Linked DNA regions of Homo sapiens: region 1 is linked to region 2. Evidence: promoter capture Hi-C in 16 types of primary human blood cells and fetal thymus (Javierre and others, 2016). All regions are on one chromosome and are shown on one strand. The core of a region is centred on a gene start or on the middle of the fragment in contact, and the rest is flanking DNA. Distances in the headings are between cores, read along the strand shown. Region 1 has its middle 11 kb from the start of SCNN1G. Region 2 holds the start of COG7 (component of oligomeric golgi complex 7).

What was found. The method cuts DNA at HindIII sites, captures the fragments that hold promoters and counts their contacts. A CHiCAGO score of 5 or more calls a contact.
Region 1: a contact is called between a fragment that was not itself captured here and the fragment with the promoter of COG7 in region 2, in 1 of 17 cell types (endothelial precursors). The highest score is 9.1, in endothelial precursors.

What each region holds. Positions count from the first base shown.
Region 1 is chr16:23,169,609-23,174,871 of GRCh38, forward strand. No RefSeq gene overlaps it. Among named protein-coding and RNA genes, the nearest start is that of SCNN1G, 11 kb to the right of the region's middle. RefSeq lists an enhancer at 2,620-3,121. The HindIII fragment of the contact is 2,672 bases long and covers 2,106-4,777 here.
Region 2 is chr16:23,450,949-23,455,968 of GRCh38, forward strand. COG7 (component of oligomeric golgi complex 7) reads right to left here and starts at 2,241. Exons shown (of 17, transcript NM_153603.4): 1 at 1,878-2,241. The coding sequence starts at 2,046. LOC124903667 (a long non-coding RNA gene) reads left to right here and starts at 1,795. Exons shown (of 2, transcript XR_007065030.1): 1 at 1,795-2,317; 2 at 4,522-4,841. RefSeq lists enhancers at 1,901-2,230, 2,521-2,570. The HindIII fragment of the contact is 18,303 bases long and covers 1-5,020 here.

The sequences.
Region 1 (5,263 bases), core at 2,192-4,691, 280 kb before region 2:
GGAGTGCAGTGGTGCAATCACGGCTCATTGCAATCTTCATCTCTCAGCCTCCCAAAGTGCTAGGACAACAGTGCCCAGCCTATCAGTGTTCTTAAATGCAAGGAATCTGCATATCCAGGACCCAGTAAAAATGAAATAAAATGAAGGAGCAGAGCCCCTTGTTCAAAAATTTCTAAAAATTTCAAGACAGTAAAGCATCAAACCAAGCCCAAGCTCCTTCTAAGCATGGGGCCTTGGACAACCACACAGGTCACATACCCATGAAGGTGGTCCTGTGCCTATCATTCATAACCAAGTTCTAGCCCACATGGAATATACAAATTGTAATATAACTGTCTCTGACTGGTCCATTCAGCCCTCCAGCCTGCATTTCCATTGTCTGAGACAACCTCTTTCTCAAGCACAGTCTTTTGGAGACAGAGGAGATGACCATAACCCAAATCAGAACTGGTTCTATTATTTTACTCACTTGTTCACTCACAAAATATGTGTTGAGCTCCCATTGTGTGCCAGGCACTGTTCTTCAGATTGAGGATAGAGCAGTGAACAAAAGGCAGAAATGCCTGCTCTGGAGAAGCCTGCATTCTAATGTAGAAAGACAGACAACTAACAAGTAATAGATACATTGTGTCAGACGGAAATTGATGCTATGCAGAAAGACAAACATCACATGTTCTCCCTTATTTGTGGAATCTAAAAATTAGAACAATTGAACTCATGGACATAGAGAGTAGAAGGATGGTTACCAGAGACTGGGAAGGGTGGTGGGGTGGGATGGTTAATGGGTACAAAAAAATAGAAAGAATGAATAAGACCTATTATTTGATTGCACAACAGGGTGGCTAAAGTCAAGAATAACTTTTTTTGGGGACAGGATCTCACTCTTGCCCAGGCTGGAGTGCAATGGCACAATCTCGGCTCACTGCAACCTCTGTCTCTCAGGCTGAAGTGATCCTCCTGCCTCAGCCTCCTAAGTAGGTGGGACGACAGGTGTGTGTCACCACACCTGGCTAATTTTTGTATTTTTAGTAGAGATGGGGTTTTGCCGTGTTGCCCAGGCTGGTCTTGTACTCCTGAGCTCAAGCAATCCAGCCACCTCAGCCTCCCAAAGTGCTAGGATTACAGGCATGAGCCACTGCACCCGGCCTAAAGTCAATAATAATTTAACTGTACATTTTAAAATAAAGAGTGTCATTGGATTGTTTGTAACTCAAATGATAAATGCTTGAAGGGATGGATATTCCATTATCCATGATGTGCTTATCTCACATTTCATGCCTGTATCAAAACATCTCATGTACCCCATAAATATATGCACATACTATGTACCAACAAAAATTAAAAATTACATAAAAATAAAGAAACCTATATCATAGATGTAAATTATTAGAAATATATATATATACTTAAAAGCAAAAAAAATTTAAACAGAAAATTGGCACTATGGAGAAAATAAAGCTGGACAGGGAAACTAAAGAAAATGTACATGGGGTTGAAATTTTAAATAGCGTGGTTATGAATAAATAGCAATGGTCCCTTGCTGGGAGAGTGACTCTTGAGCAAAGATCTGAGGGAGGTGAAATAGGGAGCCAGGCAAAAATCAGGAGGGAGAGCATTCCAGTCAGAGCAGAGCCAACTCCAAAGGCTTTCAGAAAGGAACGTGCCTGGATGAGTTTGCAAAACAGCAAGGAGGCCAGAGTGGCTAGAGAGAAATAAACACAGGGTGAATAGTAGGATTTGAGGTTTGAGTGGTACCGAGATAGGAACAGCACTGGGTGATCACAGGAGGATGGAAAAGCCCAAACAACAGCTCAAACAAGAACTAGGCAAAGAAACCACAGGATAACCGAAAACACAAAAGAAGGGAGAGAAAATGGCCAAAACCCTGGTCAGGATGACGTGTCCATGACTCTTCCAGGCAAACACGTAGGCAGTAATTGGGGTCCCTGAAATTTCCTCCTTTTGCAGAATACCTACTGATTATTCCAACCCCTAATTGAAGAGACACCCATAGAATTAGAAACCCAAACTCCATCGTGTGAGATTCGTTCTCCCAAGCATGCCCGCCCTTCTCTCTTAAGTGTGTGTTCCCACTTTGCAATAAAAGCTTCTTGCTTCATTCTGACTCATCCCTGAATTTTTTCTCCCGACAGTGTAAAGAATCTGGCCAGTGGCTAGGACTGAGGCCTCAGCGGCATCGGGAGACCTTCCTGAGCCTTCTGGCAACATTACTAAATCATGTAAGGCTCCAGGATAGACCATATGACAGGCCACAAAACAAGCCCAACCAAGTACATTTAAAAGATTGAAATCATGCAGTGCCAGAGGTCTCTAATGGGATGCCCATCTCCCATGAAATGCCATTCACAATGTTGAAATGAATACAGTAAGGAGGATGAAGGAGTGAAAGGGACATTGTCCAGCCAGCCTATTCAGTGTGTATAGATGAGTGATATCATGGTCAGATTACCTTTAGAACCGGACATGCACAATTTTTTTCTTTTTTTTTTTTTTTGAGATAGAGTCTAGCTCTGTCACCCAGGCTGGAGTGCAGTGACACCATCTCGGCTCACAGCAACCTCTGCCTCCTGGGTTCAAGCGATTCTCCTGCCTCAGGCTCCCAAGTAGCTGGGACTACAGGCACTCACCACCATGCCAGGTTAATTTTTGTAGTTTTAGTAGAGGTAGGGTTTCACCATATTGGTCAAGCTGGTCTCGCACTCCTGACCTCAGGTGATCTGCCTGTCTCAGCCTCCCAAAGTTCTGGGATTACTGGCATGAGCCACCACGCCTGGCCTATTCTTGCTGTTGTGGATAGCTATGTTCTATAAAGTTGCCACAAACACTGACTTAGTGAATACTGAACCATTCTTTCTTCTTCTTTTTTTTTTTTTTTTTTTTGGCAGGTTTCAAAAACTCGCTTTATTCCAATGTAAAATGAAGACATGATGGTTTAAAAACAAGAAAAGTTATTGATCAACTGTGAGGATGCTTTTGCTCACGTCCACCGCCTTTGAAACAACATGCCTGGACAGACCACACCCATAAGCAGCTCTCCGCAAAGACCCAGGCAGATGCCCCAGCCCCCTCCAGCTCACAAGGCAGCCAGCTACTCCTTCATCAGAGCTCCAACAGCAGGCACAGAGAAGCAGCACGGGCAGCGGGGAGGGGAAGCAGTGGGGCCTGTGGGGGCCCCCGCCACCCACAGAGCTAGTCTCTGTAGAAGGTGCTGTGTGGCAAGGACCAGGAAGGGAACTGCGCTACAGAGAGCTGACATCACTTCTGCATCTTTAACTTTCCCCAGGATCCAAGATTCAGCCCTGCTTCCCCCAGCCCCTCCCCAGCCCCACTGTGCATTAGGCAGCTCAGGTTAAAATGGGGAGAAGGTCAACCATTGCTTCTAGACAAAATACAGAGTTAGGTTTCCGAGAGCCTCTGGTCACAACATTTTCATCAACTGATCAATATGTAACTTTGCTTTATGTGTGTTTCTGTTTAAAGTCACCTTATTTAATATGTAGTTGATGCAATAACATTGACATCATGGCCAACATTACTATAATTCATGCCTTAATAAAGCCTGTCTAACATATGCCTTTCTCAGTAAGGCACATACAGTCTTGCTGTGCTTAGGAATACTAGATAGCACTTCGCACTACACTTGGGGGCCGTTGTACTCTAAGCACAATTTAGTGGAATTGTAAATCAGTGACAGAAAGAAATTTGGGAAATTCACAAATATGTGACAATTAAGACACTCCCAAATAAATATTGGATCAAAAAAGAAACCACCGGCTGGGCATGGTGGCTCATGCCTGTAATCCCAGCACTTTGGGAGGCTGAGGAGGGCAGATCATGAGGTCAGGAGTTCAAGACCAGCCTGGCCAACATAGTGAAATCCCATCTCTACTAAAAATACAAAAAATCAGTAGAGCGTGTTGGCAGAAGCCTGTAATCCCAGCTACTTGGGAGGCTGAGGTAGAATTGCTTGAACCTGGGAGATGGAAGTTGCAGTGAACAGAGATTGCATCATTGCACTCCAGCCTGGGTGACAGTGCAAGACTCTGTCTCAAAAAAAAAAAAATTAAAAAATTAAAAAATAAACCAACAGAGAAATTAGAAAATATTTTGAGGTGAGTAAAAATGACACAACATATAAAAATTAGAGGATGTAGCTTAAGCAGTTATTAGGGAGAAATTTACAGCTGTGAACACCTACATTAAAAAAGAAGAAAGATCTCAAATCAATAACCTAACTCTACACTCTCAGACTCAAGAAAAGGGAGAGTGAATGAAATCATGTAGGGCCTTATGGGCCATTGTAAGGACATCATCTTCCATAACCTCTGAGTATCTTTTGTGTTCTGAGACTTGGAGAAAAATCCAAAAGATGAAGAACAAACCCACGGGCTTAAAGAAAACTAAAAAAAAACCCAGTCAATTCTCATTATTCATGGATTTCATATTTCACTAGAATTTATTTGTAACCCTAAAATCAATACTTGCAATGCCTTTAGGGACATGTGCCAAGCAGCAAAAATTTTAGTCACCCACTGTGCTTGTTCCCAGCTGAGGTCAAATAAGGCAACACTCTACCCTCTTGTTTCAGCTCTTATACTGTAAACTCATGTCCTTTTTTGCAGCCTATATAGGCTGCCACAATTTTCACATTTTTGTTTTGTTGGTGAGTTTGCTCCCTAGCGCTGAAGTGCTATCTAATATTCCTAAGCACAGGAAGGCTGTATGTGCCTTACTGAAAAAATATATGTGTTAGGTAAGCTTTATTCAGGCATGAGTTATATAGTGCTGTTGGCCATTATTTCAATGTTATTGAATCAACTATATATTAAACAAGGTGACTTTAAACAAGAACACACATAAAACAAAGTTACGTATCGATCAGTTAATGACAACGTTGTGACCAGAGGCTCTCGGGAACCGAACTCTATATTTCTTCTAGAAGCAATGGTTCAGTATTCACTAATTCAGTGTTTGTGGCAGCTTTATAGAACATAGCTAGCCCAAATAGCAAGAATTGATTGTACATGTCCAGTTCTAAAGGTAATCTGACCATGATATCTCTCATCCACACAGACTGAATAGACTGGCTGGAGAATGCCCCTTTCACTCCTTCATCTATTCATTCCAAAATTGTGAATTGCATGTCATGGGCGATGAGGCTTCCACTGGAGACCTCCTGCATAAAAGGAGAAACTATGGCTGCTGTCCGCAGTGCTGATATCTAAAGCCAGCTTCTCTCAAG
Region 2 (5,020 bases), core at 991-3,490:
TTTGGGAGGCCGAGGTGGGTGGATCACCTGAGGTCAGGAGTTCAAGATCAGCCTGGCCAACATCATGAAACCCCATCTCTACTAAAAATACAAAAATTAGCCAGGGGTGGGGCACGCACCTGTAATCCCAGCTACTCAGGAGGTAGAGGCAGGAGAATAACTTGAACTCAGAAGGGGGAGGTTGCAGTGAGCTGAGATGGCGCCACTGCACTCCAGCCAGGGGGAAAGAGCGAGACTTCGTCTCAAAAAAAACAAAAAAACAAACAAAAATGGGAACATCTCTTGGACTATCCACTCCCAGTGGAAGCAGTCTGTTTGGTCTTTCCATCTGAGCCTAGGAGAGAGACTTGTGTGCAGTACGTACTGAATCAACACACAGTGAATCAACACACGGTGAATAAAAGTCAAGTTGAGGAGTTACATGAAATGGTTGCCAGTGCATGTTATTTTTTATAATTTAACTTATCCTCAACAAATGGTTTAGGCCAGGCGTGGTGGCTCACACCAGTAATCCTAGGGCTTTGGGAAGCCAAGATGGGAGGATCACTTGAGGTCAGAAATTTGAGATCAACCTGGGCAACATAGTGCGACCTTGTCTCTAAAAAAAAATTTTTTTTTTTAATTAGCCAGGCATGGTGGCACATGCCTATAGTTCCAGTTACTTGGGAGGCTGAGGCGAGCGGACTGCTTGAACCCAGAGTTTGAGGCTGCAGTGAACTATGATGGTATCACTGCATTCCAGCTTGGGCAGCAGAATGAGGAATGAGACCCTGTCTCAAAAAAAAAAAAAAAAAAAAGGTTTAAGTCTCCACTGAGACCAGCCTATCTTCCTCAGCTGAAATAAAATCCACTAAAACAATGTTTTCTAGATCTGTGTCATTCTCTTATACCTATACTATAATACGTTTTTTCCAGATATATGGATCTGTTGGCTATTCTTTCATACTCTCAAAATTCACTTTTTTTTTCTTTTTACAGTTTATTGTTTGGTACAAAACAGGCTCTTTAACTCTTTGAATAAACACCTCACAGACTCGTGCTCCTAGATTACAAAAAGTCAAAGCCAATTTTCTTTGACACTGGGCTCTTGACTCTGAGATTCAAGTCACTATAACAGAAACTGGAGTTGTTTTATCTTATATTCTGGAAGGTGCCTCAACAAAGACATGTTAAGAACTGGTTAAAACTTCTAGCATTTAAAAAGATCCATCTTGTCTTCCAGTGCCTATGGATAATAATAAAAAGGGAATCCCAGAGATCTGCTATTGAATTATTTAGAGAAGAGCTACTGCAATAAGATCCACTCTTTTAAGTTCCAAAAGGAAACTTCAGGCCAGATGTGGTGGCTCACAGGTATAATCACAGTACTTTGGGAGGCCAAGACTGGAAAACCCATTATGCCCAGGAATTTGAATTTGAGACCAGCCTGGCAACACAGTGAGATCCCATCTCTACAATTTTTTTTTTAAACAGAATTTGTGGGGCGCGGTGGCTCGCGCCTGTAGTCCTAGCGACTCGAGAGGCGAGAGGATCGCTTGAGTGCAGGAGTTCGAGGCTGCAGTGAGCTATGATCGAGCCACTGTAGAGAGACCCTGTTTCAAAAGAAAAAACAAAGAGAAAGAAAGAAAAGAAAAAGGAAACTTATAGCCCAGCCAGAGGAGGAAAAACAACACCCAAAATTAGCAAGTGTTCAAGACAGCCCGGCACCCAGCTGAGACTCCCGCTGACGTGATCAGGAGTTCGGGGCTTGCTCTTTTGCCGAGGGTATTTGCTGTCCATGCGTGCCCCGCCCACCTGAGTGCCTCACGCAAGTTCGGTGACCTCTGCCCAGCCGAGAGCAGGGGAGGGTCCCGCGGCCAGGGCCCCGAGCGGCTCACCCTCCACGGCGTGGTTCACCTCTTGGATGAACAGCTGCAGCTTCATCACCAGGGTGGCTGCGTGGCCATCCGCCTTCCCGGACGCCGCCTCCTTGGAGCCGGCCCTGAAGGCCGCATTGATCCACTCCTTCACGTCGAAGTCGTCTGCCAGGAACTTGGAGAAGTCCATGGCGGAACTGCCTCAGGCCTGGCGTCCAGAACTTAAGAGTTGGCTCCGGGCGGCAACGGGGATGCAGAAGCGAGCGAGCCTGCGAGAGCACCGAGGCTAGCCTCCGAGGCGAACCCCAGAAACGCCAGGACGGGTAACTTGCCCCTTTGCGCTTCCCCGCTCAGCGCACTCAGTTTGCGGCTGGGAATGACCCTCGCCGCCCGCCGTTCTTCTTCCGGAAGTCGTTGGCCGTTACCATAGTGACTGCAGGCGTCCGGAGCGCTGAGCAGAGGTGGGTGTGGGAAAACGCCCCGGACTGAGAGCTCCCGGCACCGACAAATATCCCATGTCTGCTAACATTTGCCGAGGACTAAACTATATGCTTACTATAAAGCCCTGACATACATTAGCGCATTTACGCGGTGGCTCGCGCCTGTAATCCCAGCTCTTTAGGAAGCTGACGCGGGAGAATCGCTTGAGGCCAGGAGTTCTAGGACAGCCTGGGCAACAGTGGAGCGCAGTGGGCAGCAATGGAGTGCAATTGAACGATCTCTGCTCACTACAGCCTCAAATTCCTGGGCAATTGAACGATCTCAGCTCACTGCAGCCTCAAATTTCTGGGCTCCAGCGATCCTCCCACCTCAGCCTCCAGAGTAGCTGGGACTACAGGCGCGCGACAACACGCCCGGCTATTTCTTTCTTTTTCTTTCTTTCTTTATTTTTTTCTGAGACGGAGTCTTGCTCTGTCGCCCAGGTTGGAGCGAAGTGACGCGATCTCGGCTCACTGCAACCTCCGCCTCCCAGGTTCAAGCGAGTGTCTTGCCTCAGCCTCCCGAGTAGCTGGGATTACAGGCGCGTGCCACCACGCCCGGCTACTTTTTGTATTATTAGTAGAGATGGGGTTTCACCACGCTGGCCAGGCTGGCCTCAAACTCCCAACCTCAGGTGATCCGCCTGCCTCGGCCTCCCAAAGTGTTGGGATCACAGGCGTGAGTCACCGCGCCTGGCCTAACTAATTATTTTCTTAATGATGTGTTTTGAGGTGCAGACCTTTTAAAGTTTGTTAAGTTCCTTATCACCTTTTTTTATGGATCATGCTTTTGGTGTTGCGGCTGAGAAATCTGTGCATAACCCATAATCACAAACAATTTCTCAGCCTGGGCAACATAGGAAGACCCCGTCTCTGCAAAAAAATTAAAAATTAGCTGAGTGTGGTGGCGCACACCTGTAGTCTCAGCTACTCGAGAGGCTGGGGTGAGAGGATTGCCTGAGCCCAGGAGGTCGAGGCTGCAGTGAGCTGTGATCACGCCACTGCACTCCAGCCTGGGTGACAGAGCGAGACCCTGTCTCGAAAAGAAAAGAAGAAAAGGTAGGGGAAGGTATGAGGGTATTCTTTAGGTTCTAAGTTTTTATGTTGTTTCAAGAGTGGGACCAACCCAAGGGGGAGGACAAGATGTCATCCTTGGAAACCCTACAGGGGACAGTTTTCCAGGTTGGCCTGCCATTGGGGTATGAGTGGCTGGCTGCCATCTCCAGGCCTGATAGTCACTCGTTTTTCATTGGCATCTCCCTTGGTTTGTCTCATTCTTCTGGGTTGAGTAGGTTTTAACTGGGGTAACCCTTCTGCTAGGAGTCCCAGTTATTTGGGGGGAGGGGAGAGGAGGGAAGGAGAGAGGAGGGGAGCAATGCAGGGAGGGGAGACGAGGGGAGCAATCTGATAGTGTAAGTCCTCTTACTTTGCTCTTGTTAAAAATTTAGGCAGGACACAGTGGCTCACGCCTGTAATCCCAGCACTTTGGGAGGCCGAGGCAGGCAGATGATGAGGTCAGGAGTTTGAGACCAGCCTGACCAACATGGTCAAACCCCATCTCTACTAATAATAAAAAAATTAGCTGGGCATGGTGGCACGCGCCTGTAATCCCAGCCACTCAGGAGGCAGAGGCAGGAGAATCGCTTGAACCTAGGAGGCAGAGGTTGCAGTGAACCGAGATCCGCCACTGCACTCCAGCCTGGGCAACAGACCGAGACTCCATCCCCCCCAAAAAAAAAAAAAATCCTGCTGGGATTTTGACAGGGATTATGTTGAACTGTTGAATTGTTGGATTAATTTTAGGAGAATTGCCATCATGACAATATTGACTGTTCCAATCCATAGCATGAAACGCCTCTTCATTTATTTAGATGGGAATTTTTCAGCCTTGGCACTACTGAGCCCAGATAATTTTTAGTTATGGGGGCTGTCCTATGCATTGTAAGATATTTCGCAGCATCCCTGGCCGCTACCCATTAGGAGCAACATCCTCTCCAAGTTGTGGCAACCAAAAATCTGTCCACACAGTGCCAAGTGTTCCCTAGTAGGAATCACCCCTGGGGATTTAGATCTGATTTAGATCTTCTTTAATTTCTCTCAGCAATATTTTGTAGTTTTCATTGTATAATACAAGTCTTGCACTTATTTTGTTAAATTTATTTATTTATAAGTATTTCCTTTTCTAGGTGCAGTGGCTCATGCCTGCAATCCCAGCACTTTGGGAGGCCGAGGCAGGAGGATCACAAGGTCAGGAGTTCCATACAAGACTAGCCTGCCCAACATGGTGAAACCCCGTCTCTACTGAAAATACAAAAACAGCCTGGCGTGGTTGTGTGCACCTGTAATCCCAGCTACTCAGGAGGCTGAGGCAGGAGAACTGCTTGAACCCGGGAGGCAAAGGTTGCAGTGAACAGAGATCGGGCCACTGTTATCCAGCCTGGGTGACAGAGTGAGACTCCATCTCAAAAAATAAATAAATAAAATAAGTATTTCCTTTTAATGCTAACATGAATGGAATTTTCTTAATTTTCATAGTTTCTTGTTACAGAAAAATGATTTTGTGTGTGTGTGTGTGATGGAGTCTTGCTTTGTCACACAGGCTGGAGTACAGCAGGGCAATCTCAGCTCACTGCAACCTCCGTCTCCCAGATTCAAGCAATTCTCCTGCCTCAGCCTCCCAAGTAG